3 separate regions of the Homo sapiens genome follow, and all the other regions are linked to region 1. Evidence: promoter capture Hi-C in human tissues and cell types (Jung and others, 2019). All regions are on one chromosome and are shown on one strand. The core of a region is centred on a gene start or on the middle of the fragment in contact, and the rest is flanking DNA. Distances in the headings are between cores, read along the strand shown.

Region 1 (3,449 bases), core at 674-3,173:
GCTAGAGTACAGTGGTGCGATTGTAGCTCACTGCAGCCTTGAACCCTGGCCTCAAGCAATCTTCCCTCCTTGGCCTCCCAAAGTGCTGGGATTACAGGCGTGAGCCACTGTGCCTGGCCCTTTCCTCCCTCCCTCCCTTCCTTCCTTTTCTTTACTTCCTTCCTTCTTTCCTTCCTTTCTTCCTTCTCTTTCCTTCCTTTTTTAGTAGAGATGGGTTTCACCATGTTGGCCAGGATGGTCTCGATCTCCTGACCTCGTGATTCGCCCACCTCGGCCTCCCAAAGTGCTGGGATTACAGGCTTGAGCCACCGCACCTGGCCCCTTCCTTCCTTTCCTTTTCTTTCTTTCTTTCCTTCTTTCTCTTTCCTTTTTCTTTCTTCCTCTTTCTTTTCTTTTTCTTTCTCTCTCGCCTTCCTTTCTTCCGTTCTTCCTTCTCTTTCCTTCCTTTCCTTTCTTTTCTCCCTTTTCTTCTTTACTTTCTTCTCTTTATTTCCTTTTTCTTTTTTTTCTTTCTCTCTCTCCTTCCTTCCTTTTTCTTCTCCTTCCTTCTTTCCTTTCTTTCTCTTTCTTTCCTTTTCCCTCTCTCTGTCCCTTCCTTCCTTCCTTCTCTCTCAACAATATTTTTTTTTTTGAGACAGAGTCTTGCTCTGTCGCCCAGGCTGGAGTGCAGTGGCACGATCTCGGCTCACTGCAAGCTCTGCCTCTCGGGTTCATGCCATTCTCCTGCCCCAGCCTCCTGAGTAGCTGGGACTACAGGCAACCGCCACCATGCCTGGTTAATTTTGTTTTTCTTTTTGTATTTTTAGTAGAGACAGGGTTTCACCATGTTAGCCAGGATGGTCTTGATCTCCTGACCTCGTGATCCACCCACCTCGGCCTCCCAAAGCGCTGGGATTACAGGCGTGAGCCAACACACCCAGCCTAATTTTTGTATTTTTAGTAGAGACGGGGTCTCACCATGTTGGCCAGGCTGGTCTCAAACTGGCCTCAAGTGATCTGCCCGCCTCGGCCTCCCAAAGTGCTGGGATTACAGGCATGAGCCACCGCGCCCAGGCTGAATTTACAGTTTAAACAGGCGAATTTGGCCGGGCGCGGTGGCTCACGCCCGTAATCCCAGCACTTTGGGAGGCTGAGGCGGGCGGATTGCCTGAGCTCAGGAGTTTGACACCAGCCTGGGCAACACAGTGAAGCCCCATCTCTACTAAAATACAAAAAAAAATTTTGACGGACGTGGTGGCGGGCGCCTGTAGTCCCAGCTACTCGGGAGGCTGAGGCAGGAGAATTGCTTGAACTCGGGAGGCGGAGGTTGCAGTGAGCTGAGATCACGCCACTGCACTCCGGCCTGGGCGACACAGTGAGACTCTGTCTCTAAAAAAACAAAACAAAACGAAATAAACAGGAGAACTTTATGGTATGTAAACTGCATCTCAATAAAGCCCCTGAGAGAGGAAAAGGGCCCTCTGCTCTTTCTGCCTTCCCAGGCATCAGCGGAGAGGAAAAGGTGACCTCCAGCACCGTCCCCGAGGTGGGAGGACCCGCCTTGGCCGGAAGTGGAGGCGCCGCGACCGCCCCGCCCCCGCTGTGTTCCGGCCGCCGAGTGCTCATGCACCACCAGGCTCCCTTAGGTGGACAGCAATTTTGTGCTCCCGTCAGCCACATGGGTGGCGTGTCCCCTAGTGCCGTGTTCCCCTTTTCAGAAAGACGAGCCTCGGATGCTTTTCTACCCAGCCAGTGGAGCCTGGACTCGAACTCGCTCTCATCGTAGCGCGTCCAGGTTCGGGTTCGCCTGAGAGGCTGAGATCCGAGTCTCAAGGGCACTATCCCTTTAAGACGGGGCGGAGCCCCGCGATGAGCGGCGGGCCGGCGGGAGAGGAGGCCGGAAGTGTGTGTCACGTGTTCGGGGACGGGGCGGTGCTCCGACCGGAATCGGAAGTGGCTGCGTCGTCGACGCTGGGCTTTCGGGTCCCGCGCCCAGGTGGGAAGAGGCCGGCGACTGGGGTGACCGCGGGGAAACTGAGGCAGAGGTTGAGCCAGACCCTGAAGCCTTGGCCACCGTGTTTTTGGGCGGAGGGAGGGTCAGGGCCTGGGGCGAGCTCAGAGGGGCGGGACAGGGCGGGCTTCCCCGGGAGCGGGACCGCGACGGGTGCGTACGAGTTCGCTGGGCGGGAGGAGCAGCCCGGGCAAGGGCGGAGAGGTGGACGCCCCGGTCAGCGCCCCCTTCCCCGCCTTCAGAGATGGGCTCCAAGGCAAAGAAGCGCGTGCTGCTGCCCACCCGCCCAGCGCCCCCCACGGTGGAGCAGATCCTGGAGGATGTGCGGGGTGCGCCGGCAGAGGATCCAGTGTTCACCATCCTGGCCCCGGAAGGTAGGGGGAGCCCGGTCCCGGGGAAAAGCGGACCTGAGACCCCGGCAGCAAGGGGACGGGAGAGAAGCACACCCCTAACTCCTGACCCCACGCCCTGGGAACCCCCGCAACATGGGCACGGTCCGTATCCTCTCCGAGTCTCCCTCTACTCCTCCGTAGAGTGGGACCGATTTTCAGAGGGTTCTTCTGACAGGGGTGGAGGCCGGGCGCTGTGGTTCAGGCCTGTAAGCCCAGCACTTTCGGAGGATGAGGCGGGAGGATCGCTTGAGCCCAGGAGTTCGAGACCAGCCTGGCCAACATGGTGAAACCCCGTCTCTGCTAAAAATGAAAAAACAAAACAAAAACAAAAACAAAAACAAAACAGAGTTAGCTGGGCATAGTGGCAGGCGCCTGTAATCTCAGCTACTCGGGAGGCTGAGGCAGGAGAATCGCTTGAACCCGGGATGCAGAGTTTGCAGTGAGCCGAGATCGCACCACTGCACTCCAGCCCAGGTGACAGTGCGAGACTGTCTCAAAAAAAAAAAAAAATTACTGGGTGTGGTGGTGGACACTTGTAGCCCCAGCTTCTTGGAGGCTAAAGTGGGAGGATACAGCCTAGGCAACACAGCCAGACTGTGTCTCAAAAATAAATAAGTGGCCGGTGCGGTGGCTCACGCCTATAATCCCAGCACTTTGGGAGGCCGAGGTGGGTGGATCACTTGAGGTCAGAGGTTGGACACCAGCCTGGCCAACATGGTGGAACCTTGTCTCTACTAAAAATACAAAAATTAGCCGGGTGTGGTGGCATGGGCCTGTAATCCCAGCCACTCAGGAGACTGAGGCAGGAGAATCACTTGAACCTGGGAGTCGGAGGTTGCAGTGAGCTGAGATCACGCAACTGCACTCCAGCCTGGACCACAGTGAGACTCTGTTTCAATAATTATAATAATAATTAATAAATAGAAATAAATAAAGTAAAACAGAGGTGGTAAGCTAGGGCCCCCCAAACCCTGCCCCTGGCTGTTTTTTTAAGGTCTGGGAGCTATGAATGGACTTCACATTTTTAAATGGGGGTGGGTGAAAAAGAACATTTCTGACACCTGAAA
Region 2 (3,449 bases), core at 644-3,143, 250 kb before region 1:
CTCGGCAGGAAGAAGCTGGTCCATCTGGGCGACGACTGGGGGACATCTGACAAATGGGGGTCCCTCTGGAGCTCCAGAGAGGAAGAGGCAGGGAGCTGTTCTTGGTGCTGAAGCCAGACTGGAGGGTCTCTGGTCTGGGAAGGGGGCTTCTCCCAACCCTGCCACCTGCCTGCCCCTCCCCGGGTGGGGTTCAGACTCTCTCCCCCACCTCCAGGCAGGCTGACCAAGCCCGGTTTGGCCAACTCTGTGTCCGTTCATCAGGCTGTCATCGTCCCCTCTTGAGGGTCTCTGCTGCTCTGCCGCCTCCTGGGCCCCTGCCCCATCCTGCCCAGCCCCTCACGTTGGCACAGTCCTCAGCTGGGAGCACCTGTGCCCAGCTCTGCACCCCCAAACCCTTTGTTGAATGAATGGACAGATGACAATCGTGGCACCTGGACACTGCTGTACGACCCCCCATATCTAGGTCCCAGTCTCTTTCTGTACCCCAGACCCTCCCCACAAATGCACGAGACCATCTGAGCTGCAGAAATTCTGGGAGGACTTCCTGGGGGAGGTGACCCCATCGGAACCTGGAAATGGTTTTCCTTCCACCACCGCCGCCCCCACCTTGAATCTCAGCCCAGCTGAACTTGAAAGGCTGAGCGGGCGAGGGTGGGGGGAGCGTCTCATCCGCCTGGAGGGGAGAAAACCGAGCTCATTAGGGGAGGGGATCAAACGCGAAGCTCCGGGCTGGGTGCGGGAGGAGGCGCTGACAAGAGGGAATAGTTTATCGAGGCGGCTCGCTCTCTTCCAAGGCCAGCACCTCGTCAGATATCGAGCATGCTTGTCGATGCTGCCAACCGTAAGTGGAGGAAAAAAATCGCTTAATGGGCTGCTCCAGGCTCACTCAGGTGGGTGGGTGCCCGGCTGGCCGAGAAAGGACGGTGATACTGGGTCCTTAAAAGGGCCTCCGCCATCCTCCCCCACTCTGCGGGGCTCGAGGGGGCTCGAGGCATCTGCTAATAACCCTTCGGCGCTCGTCCCATCTCCCGGGTTCCTACTGCCTGCGTGTGGCTGGGGGTTGTGGGGGGGTCTCCACTTATTTTAATTTTACAAGCCGAGCCCTAGATGTGGAATCGCTCCACTGAGCTTTTCCTGCACCCGCTGATGCCAGGCCTGGAGCTGGCCATGGAAGGCCCTGTGGTGATGGGAGAGGCTCACAGTGTGAGGGTGGTGGCTGACTTTATTTTTTTAGAGACAGGGTCTTGCTCTGTTACCCAGGCTGGAGTGCAGTGGTGCAATCATAGCTTACTGCAGCCTCGAACTCCTGGGCTCAAGCCATCCTCCCCACTCAGCTCCTGAGTAGCTGGGACTACAGGCTTGCACCGCCATGCTCAGCGAATTTTATATTGCCCGGGCTGGTCTTGAACTCCTGGCCTCAAGTGGTCCTCCACCTTGACCTCCCAAAGTGCTGGGATTACAGGCATGAGCCACTGTGCCCGGCCAGTGGCAGACTTTAAACCATGGCTGACAGCGGGTCTGGGAGCCTGAGTTGAGAAGGGCACCGTTGCCCCGAAAGGCGTAGGAGGTGCAGGAGTTCATTCAGTGAAGAGAAGTAGGAAAAGCAGGCAAAGGCTTGGGGGTTAGGAGAGCATTGAGGTGAGGAGGGGCTGGGTCGGCAGCGTCTGTGGGCCTGGCGGGGAGGTGTCATCATTCCCTTAAGAGTCAGGGGCAGCCAGGCAAGGGGTAGGACTGCATTGTTTTTTTATTTGTTTTGTTTTTTTTGTTTTTTGAGGCAGGGTCTCACTCTGTTGTCCAGGGTGGAGTGTAGTGGTGGAGGGCACCTGTAATCCCAGCTACTAGGGAGGCTGAGACAGGAGAATTGGCTCACTGCAGCCTCGACCTCCTGGGTTCAAGAGATCCTCCTGCCTCGGCCTCCCGAGTAGCTGGGACTACAGGTGCCCTCCACCATGTCCAGCCTGGAGTGGATTTTTTTTTTTTTTTGAGACGGAGTTTCACTGTTGTTACCCAGGCTGGAGTGCAAATGACACGATCTCAGCTCACAGCAACCTCCGCCTCCCAGGTTCAAGCGATTCTCCTGCCTCAGCCTCCTGAGTAGCTGAGATTACAGGCATGAGCCAGCATGCCTGGCTAATTTTGTATTTTTAGTAGAGACGGGGTTTCTCCATGTTGGTCAGGCTGGTCTCGAACTCCTGATCTTAGGTGATCCACCCACCTCGGCCTCCCAAAGTGCTGGGATTACAGGCGTGAGCCACCGTGCCCGGCGGTTATGCTTGTCGATGCTGCCTGTTTTCACTTTATAGAAGAACTGGGCTCTGTAGACACAAGCCACTTTTTCCTACCTGCTCAGAGCTGGTGAGTTTCGGGAACTGGAGGCCAGGAGCAGGGATCACGGGAGAAAAGCCCTGGGTCCCTGGGGAAGTCAGATCAGAGCCATCTGCAGAGGAGCTGGGCTGTGGGAGGGGCGTCCCCTGTCCTGCGAACCTCAGAAAAGCTGAACTACAAAATAGGTATCTGTAATTTTTGTCACATTTGCAATCTGTTTTTGAGCAAGTAATATACATATATACGTGGGAGAAACAAAACTTACATGGAAACAGCAAAAAAATAAATGCCCACCTCAACCCTTCCCGTGCCACCCTGTGCCCTTGGACGTGGAAGCCTTCATTATCTGTCCTAGGGCCTCATGATACACACCATGAAGAGTATCCGTGGCCGGGCACGGTGGCTCACGCCTGTAATCCTTGCACTTTGGGAGGGCCTGGCAGGTGGATCATCTGAGGTCAGGAGTTCAAGACCAGCCTCGCCAACACGGTGAAACCCCATCTCTACTAAAAATACAAAAATTAGCCGGGCGTGGTGGTGGACACCTGTAATCCCAGCTACTCGGGAGGCTGAGACAGGAGAATCGCTTGAACCCAGAAGGCGGAGGTTACAGTGAGCCGAGATCGCGCCACTGCACTCCAGCCTGGGTGACAGAGCAAGACTCTGTCTCAAGGGGAAAAAAAAAAAAAAGTATCTGTATATACTTAGAGACATACTCTGACTTAATGTGACCAGTCTCTACTCACTGTTCAGCATGTAGCTTTTTTTTTTGTTTTTTTTTAAAGACAAATGTCCCTCTGTCACCCAGGCTGGAGTGCAGTGGTGCAATCTCGGCTCACTGCAACCTCCGCCTCTGGGGTTCAAGCGATTCTCCTGCCTCAGACTCCCGAGTAGCTGGGATTACAGGCGCCCGCCACCACGCCCGGCTAATTTTTATATTTTTAGTAGAGACGGGCTTTCACCTTGTTGGCCAGGCTGGTCTGGAGCTCCTGGCCTCAGGTGATCCTCCCACCTTGGCCACCGAAAGTGCTGGGATCACAGGTGTGAGCCACCGCGCCCAGCTTCGGTGGGTAGTTTTTCATCCCTCCCCACTCCTACCCTCCTTTCCATATTTTCCAAGGCTG
Region 3 (3,449 bases), core at 368-2,867, 190 kb after region 1:
GACAGAGGGGACAAGGAGGGGTGGCGGGCTCCAGAGGGCGGCTCGGTCGGCACAGGAAGCGGCTGGAAAACGGAGAGAAAGTGACCAGTAGCAGAAGAGTGGGGGGGGGCCGCCTCAGCCCCCGATGTGCAGCTCCGTGTGCCTTAGGAAGACGGTGACACCCTGAGTGCTGGGGCTGACTCCCTCCCGAGCCCCAGGACCCCCAAAGCCCCGGCTCCCACGGGACCCCCAGGGAAGCTGCAGCCTGCTCCTGTCTTGGAGACCCTGGGATGGTTCAGAGGGTTCTACCCACGTCCAGGCCATGGCCAGGCCCCGGCAAACTTTTTTTGCTCTGACCAACGGGGGCTTCTCCTGTCCCCCACGTTGTGCCTGGCCCGGACCTGGTTCAAAACAAGGGGGCCTGCAGCAGGCGGGTGCGGCATCTCGGCCGGGCGTGGCAGGCAGGGCACTGGGCCACCTGGGTCCTGCCCCCAAGTCCCCCCCTTGCATGACCTTGAGCCAGCTCCTCATCCCCTCTGCACCTCAGTTTCCTGGTCAGCGCCCAGAGGACAAGAGAGGACTCCATCCCACTGCCCCTCCCGGGGCTGACCCCCAGCTCCCCGGCCCCTCAGTCTCCTTTCAAAGCTGGGCCCTTGGCCCCCTGGAGTGAAGCAGATGCTGGGTCCTGAGGGAGGGACACTCCAACTTCCCCAAGTTCATCTGGGGACCTGCGGGCAGGACGAACCCAGAGATCCCTCGAGGGCCACAGTCCCCCACCTCCGGTGCCAAGGTCCCCGGGGATCCCCACCAAATGCGAAACCGAGGGGGCTCCCCAGAGAAGCGGGTGGATCAGGGGTCCCCCCAAGTCCAGGCAGGCAACTCAGGGGCTACCCGGCATCGGAGGGTACCAGAGGGGTTCCCCAAACTCCAGGAGACGTCGGCGCTCTGGGGGATGTGGGGCGCGAGTCCCCACAGTCCGTAGGGCAATGGGGCGCCCCGGGGAAGGCAGGCGCGAAAAGGGCGAGTCCCCCAAACTCCGGGGGGCCGGAGCTCCCTGGGGGGCTCCCGCGGGAACCGGGCGCCCGCATCCCGGCGGCGGCGCGCGCGTGGGGGGCGCCCGGAGCTCCGGGGGCGCGAGGCCGGGCGCGGCTTGGGGGGCGTTGGGGGGTCCCCGGGCGCCCCCCGCGCGCGGCCGCGCTCACCTGGGGTTGCTGCGGTTCCAGTAGACGGCGTAGCGGTCCGAGTTGGCGCGGGCGGCGTCCTCGGCGCGCGCGAAGGGCGGCGGCGGCAGCGGTAACAGCAGGAGCAGCAGCGGGAGCAGCGGGCGCTGCGCGGGCGCCATGGCCCCGGTCCGGCCGCCGCGCTCGCTCTCCCGGCCGCCGCCTGCCAGCCTTCTCCGCCTCCTCCGCCGCCGCCGCCGCCGCCGAGCGGGCGGGCGGAGGGCGGGCGGGAGGAGGGCGCGGCGGCGCTTGGAGATCCCGGGCCGCCCCCGCCTCCGCGCGCGCGACCTCGGGCGCCGAGAAGTCAGGCGGCGGCGGGGCGGGGCGCCGGGGTCGCCCCGGGCGCAGGACCCGGCCGCGCGGACTGTCGGAGCGCGGGCCGCCGCCGCCGCACCCGCCGGGGAGGGGCCCGGGCTCCGGCCTTTGTCCCGCCCGAGCGTCGGGAGGGCCGCGGGCGCCCCCTCCCGCCGTGCCCCGGCCGCGCGGGGACTGGGCGGGGGTCTCCAGCCTGCGCCCGCCCCCTGCCCCGGCCCACCCCGTCTCAGGCTCGTCCCCCGGGGCCTGCCCCCAGCGACCCCGATTCTGCGCGCCCCCCGCCGGCATCCGCGTGGCCCGGCCTGGGGTCTCCGAGGGGCGGGGGCGCACCCTGCCTCCCGCGCCCCCACGCGCTCCACCCGGCCCGGCCCTGGGTCCCGGGCCTCTCACCTGCCCGGTTCCAGCGCTATCCGCAGCCTCACCAACCCCGACGCACGCGTCCCAAATCGGGCTCGGCCAACTCCAGTCTCCCTGCGGGGGCCGGGGCAGAGTTTCAGAGGGGCGCTGGCCAAAGTCCAAAGCTGCTCGGGCTGCGACCTCCCTGGGGCCCTCCTGGGAGTCGCCTCTCCGGACCCACGCTGTTCCCTGGGGATGGAGTAAGTCCCTACACCTCAGCCCTAAGGGTGCCGGGAGCATAGTAGGTGGACCGATGTGGAGTGTGAGCAGCTGGGGATGGGATCCAAGAAGCCCAGAGTGAAGCCCCGGCCGACAGCAAATCAGTCTCCACGCACGAATCCTGCAGGCAGGGGAGGGCCGCTGCCCGGGGGCACAGCTTGTGCAAAGACCCGGGGTCTGATCTGTTCAGGGAACGCCGAGTGATTTCTCCTCCTGGTAGGCTGACACAGGTGGGGAACTGGGGGCCTGGCCTCTGCTTTGTCTTTTTTCCAATCTATAGAGACAGTGTCTGGCCATGTTGGCCACGCTGGTCTTGAACTCCTGGGCTCAGGCGATCTTCCCACCTGGGCTTCCCAAAGTGCTAGGATTACAGGCGTGAGCCACTGCACCTGGCCTGCCCTCTGTTTTTGCCCTTATTCATGCCACAGCCTCCCTCACCAGACTCTGAGCTTGTGGAGGGTAGGCTGTCATCAAACGCTGGCTGGACTTTGCTGGCGATGCCCAGATCGTGTTGTACGTCTCTGAATTAGTGTCATTCACCAGGCCCAGTGCAGGAGAGGGAACTGCAGGGCAAGCACCAACAGCCCTTGGACCCGAAGGTCCCTGTGTGAGGCATTACCCAAACTCCTGGCAGGGACCGTGAACCCAGAGATGGGCAAGCTAACCTGTGCCCCAGCAAGGTGGGGTGGGGACCGGACCCACCACCGTCCCACAGCTCTGAGACGTGGTGGGCTCTGTCCTGTGTCTCCTGCGTGCCCTCCTCCCCCGATTCCCCAGCGGGCCACGCGGGCCACACCACCTGACCTTTGTTCAGGCTGGGTCCTGCTGGGAAGTCCTTCCACTTTTTCTTCCTGTTAAAATCTTGCTCTTCCAGAAAGGTCTGTCCCACCCAGTGCTCTAGCGTCCCTGCCAGGACAAGGTTCTCAGTTCTCTCTCCTCCAGGGAGCTCAGCCCGTCTGTTCTGAGCTCCAGGTCTCATCCCCTGACCCCACTACAGACGTCCCAGGTCGAAGGCCCAGGGCTGGCCGGGTGTCTCTTCAGTGGAGGGCGTGAACCTGTCCCAGGTGGTGGCTGAGGCAGGCCCTCTGGACAGGCTCTCTCAGCACCCCTGGAGTGAGGGCCTTGGGTTCTAGCCACACAAGGCTCTGTAGCCCAGACAGGCTGGAGAAGCTTCCCGGGCGGCTCCGTCTGGTGGGGGGCTCTTTTAGGGAGGGGGACGGCCACTCCCGGAGGTGAGCACTTTCGGAGCAGAGTGTGGCGGCTGCACCCAAGCACAGGACAAGGGGCCGTGAGCCTGGGGTCTTGGCGTGCCCGGCCCCA

The links. The method cuts DNA at HindIII sites, captures the fragments that hold promoters and counts their contacts. A contact is called where the count stands out against the background at its distance.
Region 2: a contact is called between a fragment that was not itself captured here and the fragment with the promoter of C19orf25 in region 1, in 4 of the 25 tissues and cell types used here (IMR-90 fibroblasts, dorsolateral prefrontal cortex, lymphoblastoid cells and 1 more).
Region 3: the fragment with the promoter of EFNA2 here is called in contact with the fragment with the promoter of C19orf25 in region 1 in 9 of the 25 tissues and cell types used here (IMR-90 fibroblasts, dorsolateral prefrontal cortex, heart left ventricle and 6 more).

Annotation. Positions count from the first base shown.
Region 1 is chr19:1,477,689-1,481,137 of GRCh38, reverse strand. C19orf25 (chromosome 19 open reading frame 25) reads left to right here and starts at 1,923. Exons shown (of 3, transcript NM_152482.3): 1 at 1,923-1,975; 2 at 2,233-2,364. The coding sequence starts at 2,235. RefSeq lists enhancers at 1,757-1,876, 2,238-2,738 and a silencer at 2,097-2,146. The HindIII fragment of the contact is 27,509 bases long and covers 1-3,449 here.
Region 2 is chr19:1,731,822-1,735,270 of GRCh38, reverse strand. No RefSeq gene overlaps it. Among named protein-coding and RNA genes, the nearest start is that of ONECUT3, 20 kb to the left of the region's middle. The HindIII fragment of the contact is 7,385 bases long and covers 1-3,449 here.
Region 3 is chr19:1,284,041-1,287,489 of GRCh38, reverse strand. EFNA2 (ephrin A2) reads right to left here and starts at 1,617. Exons shown (of 4, transcript NM_001405.4): 1 at 1,182-1,617. The coding sequence starts at 1,321. RefSeq lists enhancers at 1,532-2,032, 2,033-2,533. The HindIII fragment of the contact is 32,397 bases long and covers 1-3,449 here.